3 separate regions of the Homo sapiens genome follow, and all the other regions are linked to region 1. Evidence: promoter capture Hi-C in 16 types of primary human blood cells and fetal thymus (Javierre and others, 2016). All regions are on one chromosome and are shown on one strand. Each heading gives the region's core, a stretch centred on a gene start or on the middle of the fragment in contact. The rest is flanking DNA. Distances are from core to core; before and after follow the strand shown.

The links. Contacts are between HindIII fragments. The CHiCAGO score rates a contact against its expected background, and 5 or more counts as called.
Region 2: a fragment that was not itself captured here is called in contact with the fragment with the promoter of COMP in region 1 in 1 of 17 cell types (erythroblasts); the score reaches 5.4 in erythroblasts.
Region 3: a fragment that was not itself captured here is called in contact with the fragment with the promoter of COMP in region 1 in 1 of 17 cell types (erythroblasts); the score reaches 5.2 in erythroblasts.

The regions. Positions count from the first base shown.
Region 1 is chr19:18,790,055-18,793,848 of GRCh38, reverse strand. It overlaps COMP (cartilage oligomeric matrix protein), which reads left to right and starts at 2,544. Exons shown (of 19, transcript NM_000095.3): 1 at 2,544-2,658; 2 at 2,914-2,999; 3 at 3,236-3,287; 4 at 3,735-3,794. The coding sequence starts at 2,580. RefSeq lists enhancers at 2,225-2,803, 2,804-3,384, 3,385-3,794. The HindIII fragment of the contact is 6,208 bases long and covers 881-3,794 here.
Region 2 is chr19:18,459,805-18,463,598 of GRCh38, reverse strand. It overlaps ELL (elongation factor for RNA polymerase II), which reads left to right. Exons shown (of 12, transcript NM_006532.4): 5 at 1,747-2,021. Among named protein-coding and RNA genes, the nearest start is that of ISYNA1, 24 kb to the right of the region's middle. RefSeq lists an enhancer at 1,456-1,515. The HindIII fragment of the contact is 469 bases long and covers 1,731-2,199 here.
Region 3 is chr19:18,507,567-18,511,360 of GRCh38, reverse strand. All of the region lies in intron 1 of ELL (elongation factor for RNA polymerase II), which reads left to right. Among named protein-coding and RNA genes, the nearest start is that of ELL, 13 kb to the left of the region's middle. RefSeq lists an enhancer at 3,099-3,794. The HindIII fragment of the contact is 1,228 bases long and covers 1,460-2,687 here.

The DNA.
Region 1 (3,794 bases), core at 1,295-3,794:
AGTTCCCTCCGCCTGGAATGCCCTTCCCTGCAACTCCCCGTGGCCCAGCCATGGATAAGGCCACGTGTGTCCAAGCCCCAGCACTGTGACCAGCCTGTGGCAGGGGCCTGGCTTCCATGTGCTCCTGTCCTAGCTGTGTGCAGCATATGCCAGCCCCCAGGCCCCACTGGAGCTGTGGTTTTCCCGAGAATTCCAGTGCTGCCAGGAGCGGCCCCCAGGTGTGCTGAAGGCCAAGGAAAACAGGAGGTGAGCTCATGGCCCCAATGTAGGCAGCAGGCAGGGCAGGCACTATTGAGGACAGGCTTCATTGGAAATGCTCTGGCTGGGACCAGCTGCTTCCACCAACACTCCACTTATAGGCCTGTCTCTCTTCACGCACTCTCTGTGGCTCCCCATTACCCTCGGGAGACCACTGGAGCCCCACACCACCAGCACTGCCCTTTCACACACAGCCTCATCTCCTGCTTCTCACTGAGCCCCAAGAGCTTGTCACCTTGAGGTCAGTCCATCCAACGGGCCAGGTTGGTTCCTGCCTCAGGGCCTTTGCCTATGCTGTTTCCTCTACCTGGAATGACTTTCTGCTACCTCTGCCTGGCTGTGTCCTCCTCATCATCCGGTCCTCAGCTTGGTGGTCCCTCCTCCTCCAGAAGCCCGCCCTGACCCATCCCCTTTCAAACAGATCAATTTCCTGGGGACTCCTACCATTGTCTGTGTGTCCCGTCACAGCCATGAGCCCACTGGGCTCCCCATTTGAAGGAGAGACTGGGTCTGGCTTCTTCACCCTGTGTGCCCATCACCCAGCACAGGAGACATGACACACAACAGTCCTTGATGTTTGTGAAATAATTATTGTGTCTAGAAATGTCCCCACCTCCAAGCTTCACATGCTTCCCTCCACCAAAACTGCCCTCACCTTTTCCCTCTGCTGATCCAAGTCCTCCTTTTCTTTTATGTCTGTCTCCTTGCTACCTCCTCCAGGAAGCCCTCGGTGACTTCTCTGTAGGCTCCCCAGAAAACATATCTGGCTCTGAGTCTAGATTCACCCCTGCCCTCGGGCAGTGGCCTTAGGCCAGTCACTTTTTCTCTCTGGGCCTCAGTTTCTCTGTCTATAGAATAGACGCTGTGAGTACTGGAAGGTGGGAGTGGAGAGTGTTAACTGATTGCAGGAGGTTAAGGGGTTTTGTAACTCCAGAGTGTGGCTGGCCAGTTAGCGGTAACTTTTATTTTTATTACAGGCTGTTCCCACAGCAGCTGGAGCACAGTTTGGAAGGTATGGCACAGCCTGGACAAACAGAAGCCCCGGACCTCCCCTTGCTAGAGCCCTTTAACTTGCTCCCCTCCAGATGGGGGCCTCACACCCCATTGCGCAGATTGGAAAACCAAGTGGGCCTGTCCCCTTGGACAGGGGTTGGGGCAAGATCCTGAACGCTGTCCCCTCCTCCACCAGCCGAGGGACCATGGGGAGGGGAGGGAACACCAGCAATGAGTTGGGTTGGGGGGAGTCATTTGCAGCCCTCCAGCGTTGGGGCCAGAAGCGGCCTCCTTGGACAGAGGCAGGAAAATTGAGAGTCCCAGGTCTCAACTGCCCCTCCCCTATTTTCCATTCATCATCATAATCATCATTACTATTAATCATTAATTAATAATTATTAACTTATTACCTCCATTGTGCAAGGGAGGAATTACGCCTGGGTAATTTTTGTACTTTTAGTAGAGATGGGGTTTCACCATGTTAGCCAGGCTGGTCTCAAACTCCTGACCTCAGGTGATCTGCCCGCCTTGGCTTCCCAAAGTGCTGGGATTACAGGTGTGAGCCACCGCACCCAGCAACTTACCCAGTTTTGAAGCACTTCAGGAGGAGTGGAGGGCCAGTCAGTCTGATCCATAGTGGGTGGACCTATTTTTTCAGACGCTGGTGACTCTGTTTCCCGAAGTGTGAGCTGAGAGCGTGGCCATGGAGCCTGCCTTGTTTGGAACTGGAACTCAGGTTTGGCATACAGCAAGCACTCAATCAATCAATCAATCAATGAGCTGAATGCTATGGCTGGATCCTGTAATCCCAGTTATGTGGGGAGTATCGCTTGAGGCCGGGAGTTTGAGACTACTAGCCTGCAGGACATAGCCAGACCCGGTCTCTAAAAATAAAAATAAAAATAAAAATAAATTAGCTGGACTTGGTGGTGCGGGCTTGTAGTCCCAGCTACATGGGAGACTGAAGCAAGAGGATGCGATACAGCCACACCCCGTCACACACACACACACACACACACACAGACGCACACACACAGTGAATGAAAGTGGGGGCAGTACCCCCTGACTCCCTGCCCCACCAGCTCTCTCCACAGACCCCGGGACTCAGTTTCCCCACCATGTCGGATTCAGCCGCGGGCGACTTCGCGGGGCATTCCGGGCGGGGACTTGAACGCAGGGGCCAGCGCCATCTGTTTACCTTGAGGCTGGACGTTGGGCAGGGCTGTGGTGGGCCGTCCCTGGGGCCGGCCGTGCCTTGGGGATAAATAGGCCCCGCGGGCCTCGTGGGCGGTAGAAAGCGAGCAGCCACCCAGCTCCCCGCCACCGCCATGGTCCCCGACACCGCCTGCGTTCTTCTGCTCACCCTGGCTGCCCTCGGCGCGTCCGGACAGGGCCAGAGCCCGTTGGGTAAGCCGCGTTAGCACCCGCGCCGTGCCCACGGCCCCACAACGGACTGTAGGACCCGTGAGAGGCCCGGGATCCAGGCTGTTTGGGGCTCACGGACTGTTCGTAGGGGACGTGCCGGGCGCAGAAAGCAGGTGGCGGGACCGAGACTAGAGGAGCGCAGTGGGGCCTCGGAGGTCCGGGTTCGCTGCAACGGTGGGAGTTGGTGGTGGGATTCCCCGGCCCCATGACGCCTCACCAGGTCCCCTGCCGCCGCAGGCTCAGACCTGGGCCCGCAGATGCTTCGGGAACTGCAGGAAACCAACGCGGCGCTGCAGGACGTGCGGGAGCTGCTGCGGCAGCAGGTGCGGGGCCCGGGTGCGGGGCAGGGAGTGCCAGGGAACGGAAGGGGGTCTCAGTTCCCAGCGAGGAGAGAGGAAGTACCCGAGAAGGTGGAGAGGAGATGGGGAGGGAAGGGGGTCGGCGGGTAGGGAGTCCTTGGCGAAAAGAGGCTGTAGAAAGGGACCCCGGGGTAGAGAGAGGGGAGACCCGAGGGATGAGGAGAGGTTGGGACCCCGCTGATTCCATCCCACCCCTGCAGGTCAGGGAGATCACGTTCCTGAAAAACACGGTGATGGAGTGTGACGCGTGCGGTGAGCGCGGCGGGGCGGTCGGGAGAGAGAAGAGACGGGAGACAGAGACACAGAGACAGAGACAGAGAGCCAGGGAAAGCTGGGGAGGAAAAGAGACGGAAGGAGATGGAGGCTGACGGAGAGGTGGACGGACGAACGGGAATGGGATGGGGTGTGTAGAAACAGAGACAAAAAGAGACAGAAGCGGTGAGAGAGTTTTGGGGAAGTGAGAGACGCCACGGGGCAGAAAAGCGGGACAGAGACTCAGAGAAGAGACCGGGGAGACCCCGCGGTCAGAGCGCGCAGCCTCTGGGGCGGGATCGCGGACAGCGCAGGATTTCGGGCCGCCCCGGGGCGGGGGGTGGGGGGGAAGGGGAAGCCTCCAGCCCCGGGGCGTGGCCATGATAGGCTCTGCCCCCGGGCGAGCCACCGATCAGCCCCGCCGCTTCTCCCCCCTCCCCCCCGCAGGGATGCAGCAGTCAGTACGCACCGGCCTACCCAGCGTGCGGCCCCTGCTCCACTGCGCGC
Region 2 (3,794 bases), core at 716-3,215, 330 kb after region 1:
CACTTTGAGAGTCCAAGGCAGGGAGATCACAAGGTCAGGAGTTCGAGACCAGCCTGGCCAATATGGTGAAACCCCATCTCTACTAAAAATACAAAAATTAGCCAGTTGTGGTGGCGTGCGCCTGGAGTCCCAGCTACTCGGGAGGCTGAGGCAGGAGAATCTCTTGAACCTGGAAGGCGGAGGTTGCAGTGAGCTGAGATTGTGCCATTGCACTCCAGCCTGCGCAACAGAGTGAGACTCTGTCTCAAAAAAAAAAAAAAAAAAAAAAAAAAAGATGTGAATGTGCGTGTTCCTCTGTCTCACAGTGCCCCCCTCAGGTTGCTCCTCCTCCCTGTCAATCAGCCTGGCCCTATATGGGTGAGTCCAGCCCTGCTGTCAGGACCCCACTGAACAGACCCCAGAGGTGTGAGCACTGGCCCTGGGTATTCTGAAAGCAAGGCTTTCTGGGTTAATTTGACAGATCAGATTTTGAGAGATAAGATCAGAGTGATGTTGTTACGAAGAGCTTTTGGGGGAAGGATTTGAGGCACTGTTGAGCTTGCTCGGCCGACCCTGTTCCCAAGGATGCCGGGGCATCATTGTTCAGGACAGAGCAGGGGAGCAGCGTGCTGGACCCTGCCCACGTCTCTGCGTTGGGGATAGAGGGGAACCTGCTCTCCCCAGGGCTCTGGGCACAGCCACGCCTGCCAGAGGAGAGCTTGACCAGGCCTAAGGCTGGGGTGCCACTTGCACCTCAGGGTCTTCAGAGCAGCTGCTGAAAGTGGCTCCGACATCTTTACTGACTTTAGAAAAACAAAAATGGCAGCCACATGGGGCCAGCATAGGACTCTGAAGTGCAGGCTTGGGAGTGACTGCCTCTTGCAGTTCAGGGACCCCCAGTTTAACATCAGAAGGGTTTACAAACAGCCCCTGCCTCAGGTTGGGCAGGATGGCTCTGGTTTATAATACCAGCACTTTGGAAAGCTGAGGTGGGAGGGTCCTTTGGGCCCATGAGTTTGAGACCAGTCTGGGCAGCATAGTGAGACCCCATCTCTACAAATAATATAAATTAGCCAGGCATGGTGGTGCACACCTGTGGTCCCAGCTACTCCAGAGGCTGAGGTGGGAGGATCGCTTGAGCCCAGAAGTTTGGGGCTGCAATGAGCCATGATTGTATTACACTCCAGCCTGGGTGACAGAGCAGGATCCTGTCTCAAAAAACAAAACAATCCTTCCCCCCCCGCCCCCCGCCCAAACACACACACACACACACACACACACACAGCCCACTAGAGTGATCAGGTGATTTCATACACGCACACACACATTGCCCACCAGAGTGATCAGGTGATTTCTCACACACACATACTGCCCACCAGAGTGATCAGGTGATTACATACACACACACACACACACACACACACACACACACACACACACTGCCCACCAGAGTGAGAGTGATCAGGTGATTTTGCTGTCCAGGATTTAGGTTGCCTGTGATGAAGTAAGTAAGGCTCTAACACAGTTCTGCCGCCTGCACCTCCCACTTCTGAGGCTGGGTGCCCTGCAGGTGCCTGCCTTGGGCAGCAGGTGGCGCTCTTGGTCGCCCAGGGTCCCCAAGGAGCAAGCTGGCTTTTGCTGTGGTTGGTGTGGTGCCTCCCACCAGCACTGTCTATAGTCTCAAACCTCTGGGCACCTGGTCAGCAGCACTGGCTTAGGACACGGCAGCGCCCTCTCTGTTCCCTAAAGCTTGGATTCTTGTTGCAGGCAAGAAGGTTCAGTTTCGGAAACCAGCCCCAGGTGCAACAGACGCGGTGCCCTCCCGGAAGCGGGCAACCCCCATCAACTTGGCGAGTGCCATCAGGAAGAGTGGTGCCAGTGCCGTGAGTGGGGGCAGCGGGGTGTCCCAGAGGCCCTTCCGTGACCGAGTGCTGCACCTCCTGGCACTACGGCCCTACCGCAAGGCTGAGCTGCTGCTGCGACTGCAGAAGGACGGCCTGACGCAGGCGGACAAGGACGCGCTGGATGGCCTCCTCCAGCAGGTGGGTGCCGCCCCGATGTCTTGTCTTTACCAGTGGTCTCCGCAGATGGTCTTGTGCGGGTGGGATGGGCCAGAGCATGGAGACTGGGATTGGGACTGGCAAGGAAGAGCCCTTCCTGGGGTCTCTCACAGGTTCAGAACCTGCCTGAGAGCCAGGGCCTCCTGGATTAGAACAAGCTTAGGGGGCCATGGATGCGTTTCTGGGCATGGCCCCGACTGTCCAGGGTTGAGAGGTGGACTCAGCATGGAGCCCAGGCCCTCCTTCACTGTCTGCTGACACACGGGCCGTGGGGCCTGGCACAGTGGATTCAGGCTTCAGTTGCAGACGATTTGTGGACTCAAGGCCTGGGGAAGGAATCTACACGTGCCTGGCAGAGCCTGGCAGGCCTCAGTGTGAATCAGCTGCCTGCCGCCCTCCACCTGCGCCTCCGGGTGAGGGGCTTCACGTCTCAGACCATCAGGCTTCCATCTGTGACCTGCAGTGCCCCTCCCTGGGGTTGGAGGCTAGGCCATCTGGAATGTGGTGCTGGCGAGTGGAGCCTGCTCTTGAGAAACACCCCGGGCATTGGAGCAGGTGCGATGGCCCTGACTGCCTTCCACCCCCCTCACCCATGGAGGTTCCTGAGGCTCCACCTTGGCTTCCTGGGGTCCCTGGGAAGGGGAGTGACTCGCACTGGCTTCAGAACATTAGCCAGGCTATGCAGATGCAGCCTTGAGGTGAACTGAGGATGGGTCTCCTCGGATCGCTGCTGTGGTGGAGGAAGAGACATGGCTGAGCCTCTTGCACCTTTTAGGATGATGGAAGTGGGATGTTCGGGGTCACATCCAGCACCTCAGGAACACAGGTGATGCCTGCAGCAAAAAGCACATGCTGTGGCATGCCGGGATAGCAGCTGTATAAAGGACGTTCTTCCATGTTTACGGAGCTCCTCATAGGCGTCCCTCTCGGGTGCGCGGCTGGTGGGACCCTGTTCCACATTCCTTGGGAGGATGTCAGCCTGGCCCTCGTCCACCCCCATCCTGCTCCCAAGGCTAGGGCTGGCATGGTGCCAGCAGGAGTTGCTGAAGGGAGCTCGATGGAGTCATCAGATGTGGGACCTGCATTGGCCTGGCCAGGAGGTGTCTGTGCTGGTGCCTGGCTTCTCCAGGTGACTTTGGTTCAGTGCCTCCTGGGAGCAGGCCTGGCCAGCATCTGCAGGCAGATTGTCCCTTCCTGTGCCACTGTGACTTCCCCTGGACAGCTCGTCTGCTTCTTGCTTCTATATTCATTATGCAGCTGCTTCCCCCCAAGCAGCTGTGGGGGTCAGCAGGACACTGTTGGCTTGTAGAAGAGGAGGGGGATGTGCCTCACCCAGACTGGTCATTTCCAGCCCCTCACAGGCCCTCAGACATGCTGAGGAATGGCAGTGACAAAACTGCATGCCTCAAAGGTGCTTGGCCCTCCCTCTGTGGAAAAATCTAGAGCAGAGATGGAAGGTGTCCACCTCTAGGACTGGCTGAGCCCCAGGGAAACCCGCAAGCCTATCCTTCAAGGGGAGGGGTGTTGACGGCTGAGTAATATTTAGCAAAGCCTGTCATGAGCCATAAAAATATTCAGCCTTTGACCTACTAATCTGGCTTCTGGGAATCCCGTCGAAGGAAACTGTTGCCAACCTGAAAAAAACTGCACACAGTAATGTCTGTTTATGCTACAGAGAAACTGGCAGCAGTTTGGGGGTGGGATATTACTCAACTGTTAAAAATGCTCCCCATGGGCCGGGCGCGGTGGCTCACG
Region 3 (3,794 bases), core at 824-3,323, 280 kb after region 1:
CCTCCCAGGTTGAAGCAATTCTCCTGCCTCAGCCTCCCAAGTAGCTGGGATTACAGGCGCCCACCACCACGCCAAGTTAATTTTTTTTTTTTTTGAGACGGAGTTTCGCTCTGTCACCCAGGCTGGAGTGCAGTGGTGCTATCTCAGCTCACTGCAAGCTCTACCTCCCGGGTTCATGCCATTCTCCTACCTCAGCCTCCCGAGTAGCTGGGACTACAGGCGCCCACCACCATGCCTGGCTAATTTTTTATATTTTTAGTAGAGATGGGGTTTCACCATGTTAACCAGGATGGTCTCGATCTCCTGACCTCATGATCTGCCCGCCTCAGCCTCCCAAAGTGCTGGGATTACAGGCATGAGCCACCGCACCCGGCCCATGCGTAGCTAATTTTTATATTTTTAGTAGAGACGGGGTTTCACCATGTTGGCCATGCTGGTCTTGAACTCCTGACCTCAGGTTATCTGTCCACCTCGGCCTCCCAAAGTGCTGGGATTAGAGGTGTGAGACACTGCTCCCGGCCTCATTTGGTCATTCTGTGTTTAATTTTTTGAGGATTTGCCAGATTGTTTTCCACAGCGGCTGCAGCATTTTACATTCCCACCAGCCGTGCACAAGGGTTGTGGTTTCGCCACGTCCTTGCCCGAACTGGTTATTTTTTGATGGTAGCCATCTTAATGGGTGTGGGGTGGTCTTGGAGCCATTTAAATGCCCTCATGTATGTGACTGTCCTGTGAGAGCTAGGACCTGCAGGGCCTCTGATGCCCCTGGATGGACCCAGGAGTCACCTGGTCACAGGTGACAGAGGAAGGTCTCGAGCAGGATCACCTGGGCTCAGGTGAGAGAAAGGGACAGGGAGAGCCCGGTGTGGCTCTGCAGTGAGGGAAGCTGGGGCTGAGTGGAGATGACAGTGGCTACGTGCCCTGCTTCTGCATAGCCAGTGTGCGGTTGCCCGGCCTGTGTTGGGATGCAGGTTTCTCTTTTTGTTTTGAGACCGAGTCTCACTCTGTCACCCAGGCTGGAGTGTGCAGTGGTGTGATTCTTGGCTCACTGCAACCTCCACCTCCCAGGTTCAAGCAATTCTCGTGCCTCAGCCTCCAAATTAGCTGGGATTACAGGCTTGCGCCACAATGCCCAGCTAAGTTTTTTGTGTTTTTAGTAGAGACGGGGTTTCACCATGCTGGCCAGGCTGGCCTCAAACTCCTGGCCTCAAGTGATCCACCCACCTTGGCCTCCCAAAGTGCTGGGATTACAGGCGTGAGCCATCGTGCCCAGCTGGGACATGGGTTTCTGTAAGCAGTGAGGGTTAGGAAGGGCCTTGGGTGAGGTTGGCCAGGGTGGTTGAGCCTCTCAGTGGCAGGACTTCTGAGCCCTGCAGGTACTGAGGCTTCAGGGCCCTTCTCAGGCAAAGAGCTCAGATGGGTGCAGAATCTCTATTTTTAGCCCTTTTTGGATTAAGCTTTTGTGGAAAATGAGGTCTCTTCCAGGTGAGAAGTGGCCTGGAGGTCCTGCAGGTCAGGGACAGCCCACTGGGGGGCACTGGCTGGGCGGGGGGGTCCAGCTGCTGCCCTTGGCCTAGCCCTGAGGCATTTGCTGAAGGTGGGTGGGAGGGAAGAGGAGGAGCAGAGTTTTCTTAGGATCCTGTGGGCAGGTGGAATCCACCTACTTCCAGGAGGAGCCCCAGGCCTCCAGTTGGGGAGGGGAGTGTGTGTGTGTGTGTGTGTGTGTGTGTGTGTGTGTGTGTGTGTGTGTGTGTGTGTGTGTATGTGCGCGCGCGCGCACGTGCATTGGCCTGTGTCTCCATCTGTGTTCACCCTGGAGACCTTAGGTTGGGCCCCTCTATCCAGGGTAGGCTGATTAGTGGGGGCCTGTGGGCCAAGGGGCCGGGTGGGGGCGGCCACCCCATCACATTGCCCTTCTTTCGGAAGGGTGACTCCCCACCAGGAACCCAAAGGGCTTGGGGTGGCCTTGTCTCCTCCCACAGGCCTGAGGAGGGTAAGCTGGGTTGGGAAGTTCCTTTTTCCTTTCTGAAAACAGTGACTTTTCGGGGTACAATGAGCTTCCTGCTGTGGATCTTGTAGCCCCTACACCTGGAGGGAGTGACCTTAGGGTCTCAGTGGGCACTGTGATAAGGATGCCTGCTGGATTGCATCAGGGCGCCTGGTTCACAGGACCTCCAACCTGGCTGCTGTGGGGAAGGGCCCTGGTGGGTGCCTCCTGCTCACGGCTACTCTGAAATATTATTCCCGAGATCTTGAGGGGAACCTGGGCTGCGTCCACCTCATGTTTGCTCCATTTCCCCATGGAATTAGTGGTAGAGGTGACTCACAGGGTCTCTTTTTGTGTCCTCAAGGAAACTGAGGCCTATAGGCTCTGCCCAGGGTCACTGCTATAGTTGCTTATCCCCACAACAAGGCTTGCTGCCTTGTTAGGACGCGGACAGAGTGGGCTGTAGTGTGATCTTTTTCAGCAGCAACCCTAGAGACTATAGCGTGTTGGTAAACTGTGGCCAAAGGGCTGGGTCTGGCCTGCCACCTGTCTTTGTAAATAAAGTTTTATAGGGACACAGCTGCCCACTTGCTTACCTGTAATTTATGGCTGCTCTTGCCCTGTGACGGCAGCCAAGGCTGCAACTGTCTAGCTCACAAAGCCTGAAATACCAACTCTTTGGCCCTTCATAAAAGAAGCTTGCTGGCCGCTGGTCTAGGGTGTCCAGCTGGGTGTGTGGCAGGAAGAGTTGGTGTGTTAATGGAACCACTGTCGTGGGGCCAGGCTCGGGCCTTGGGCTCCCAGGCCCCTGTGCAGTGCCAGGCAGCCCTGTGAAGCCTTGCTGTTGGCCAGGGCCAGTTGAGACTTTGGAGGGTCCTTTTGTTCTGGCCCCTTTATTTCACTAATGGGACATCTAGAAGATAATGGCTAACTTGAGATCACACAGTTAGTGCAGATGATGTCAAACCTTGAACCTGAGGGCATCCACTCTGGGACAGGCTACCCTCCTGGCTGCTGACTCTTGTATTGTATTTTATTTTATTCTATTTTTGTTTTTATTTTTTAGAGAGAGGGTCTTGCTGTGCTGTCCAGGCTGGAGTGGAGTGGTGTGATCATAGCTCACTGCAGTCTGTTAACTCCTGGCCTCAAGTGATCCTCCCGCCTTGGCCTCCCAAAGTGCTATAGGCGTGAGCCACCACACTCAGCTGTGACTCCTATTTTGATCTCATGCAAACTCAAAATGTTTCTCAGCCCGCATGGGAGTCCCTGGGTTTTCCGGGAGTTTTTCTCAGGGACTGCATCAATCCTGACATAGCCTCCAGTGGGAACCGGCCTCTTTATTTGTGACCTGTATGTGACCTTTGAAACAAAACACAGTCATGTGCAGCCTGGATGGGAAGGGCTGGCTTGTGTGTCCCTTGTGGAGTTGGGAGCAGCTGCCGCATGGAGTCAGCCTCAGCCTGCTGCATCCTCATCTCTGGGGATGGAGCTGGGGGTCAGGCGTCTGCCTCCAGATGGGTAGTGGGGCCCGCAGAACCTGTGTCTGATTCTAGTTGGGCTCTGAATGCAGTCTCTGAGCTGAGCCTCAGCTGCGTGGTTGTTCGGCGGGGCACAACCTACACAGTGCAATCTCCTACACAGAGGGATTGCACCCAGTGAGGGTTCGGCTGCCTCCAGGAGTGTTTCTCCAGTAAGAAGCAGGAGGGATGAAGCCCCTGCGCTCACATGGCCCACTTCTTCGCAGCGGGGAGGTGCACCATAAACCAGCAACAGCCAGATCATGGTGGCTTCAGACTGGCTTGGTGTG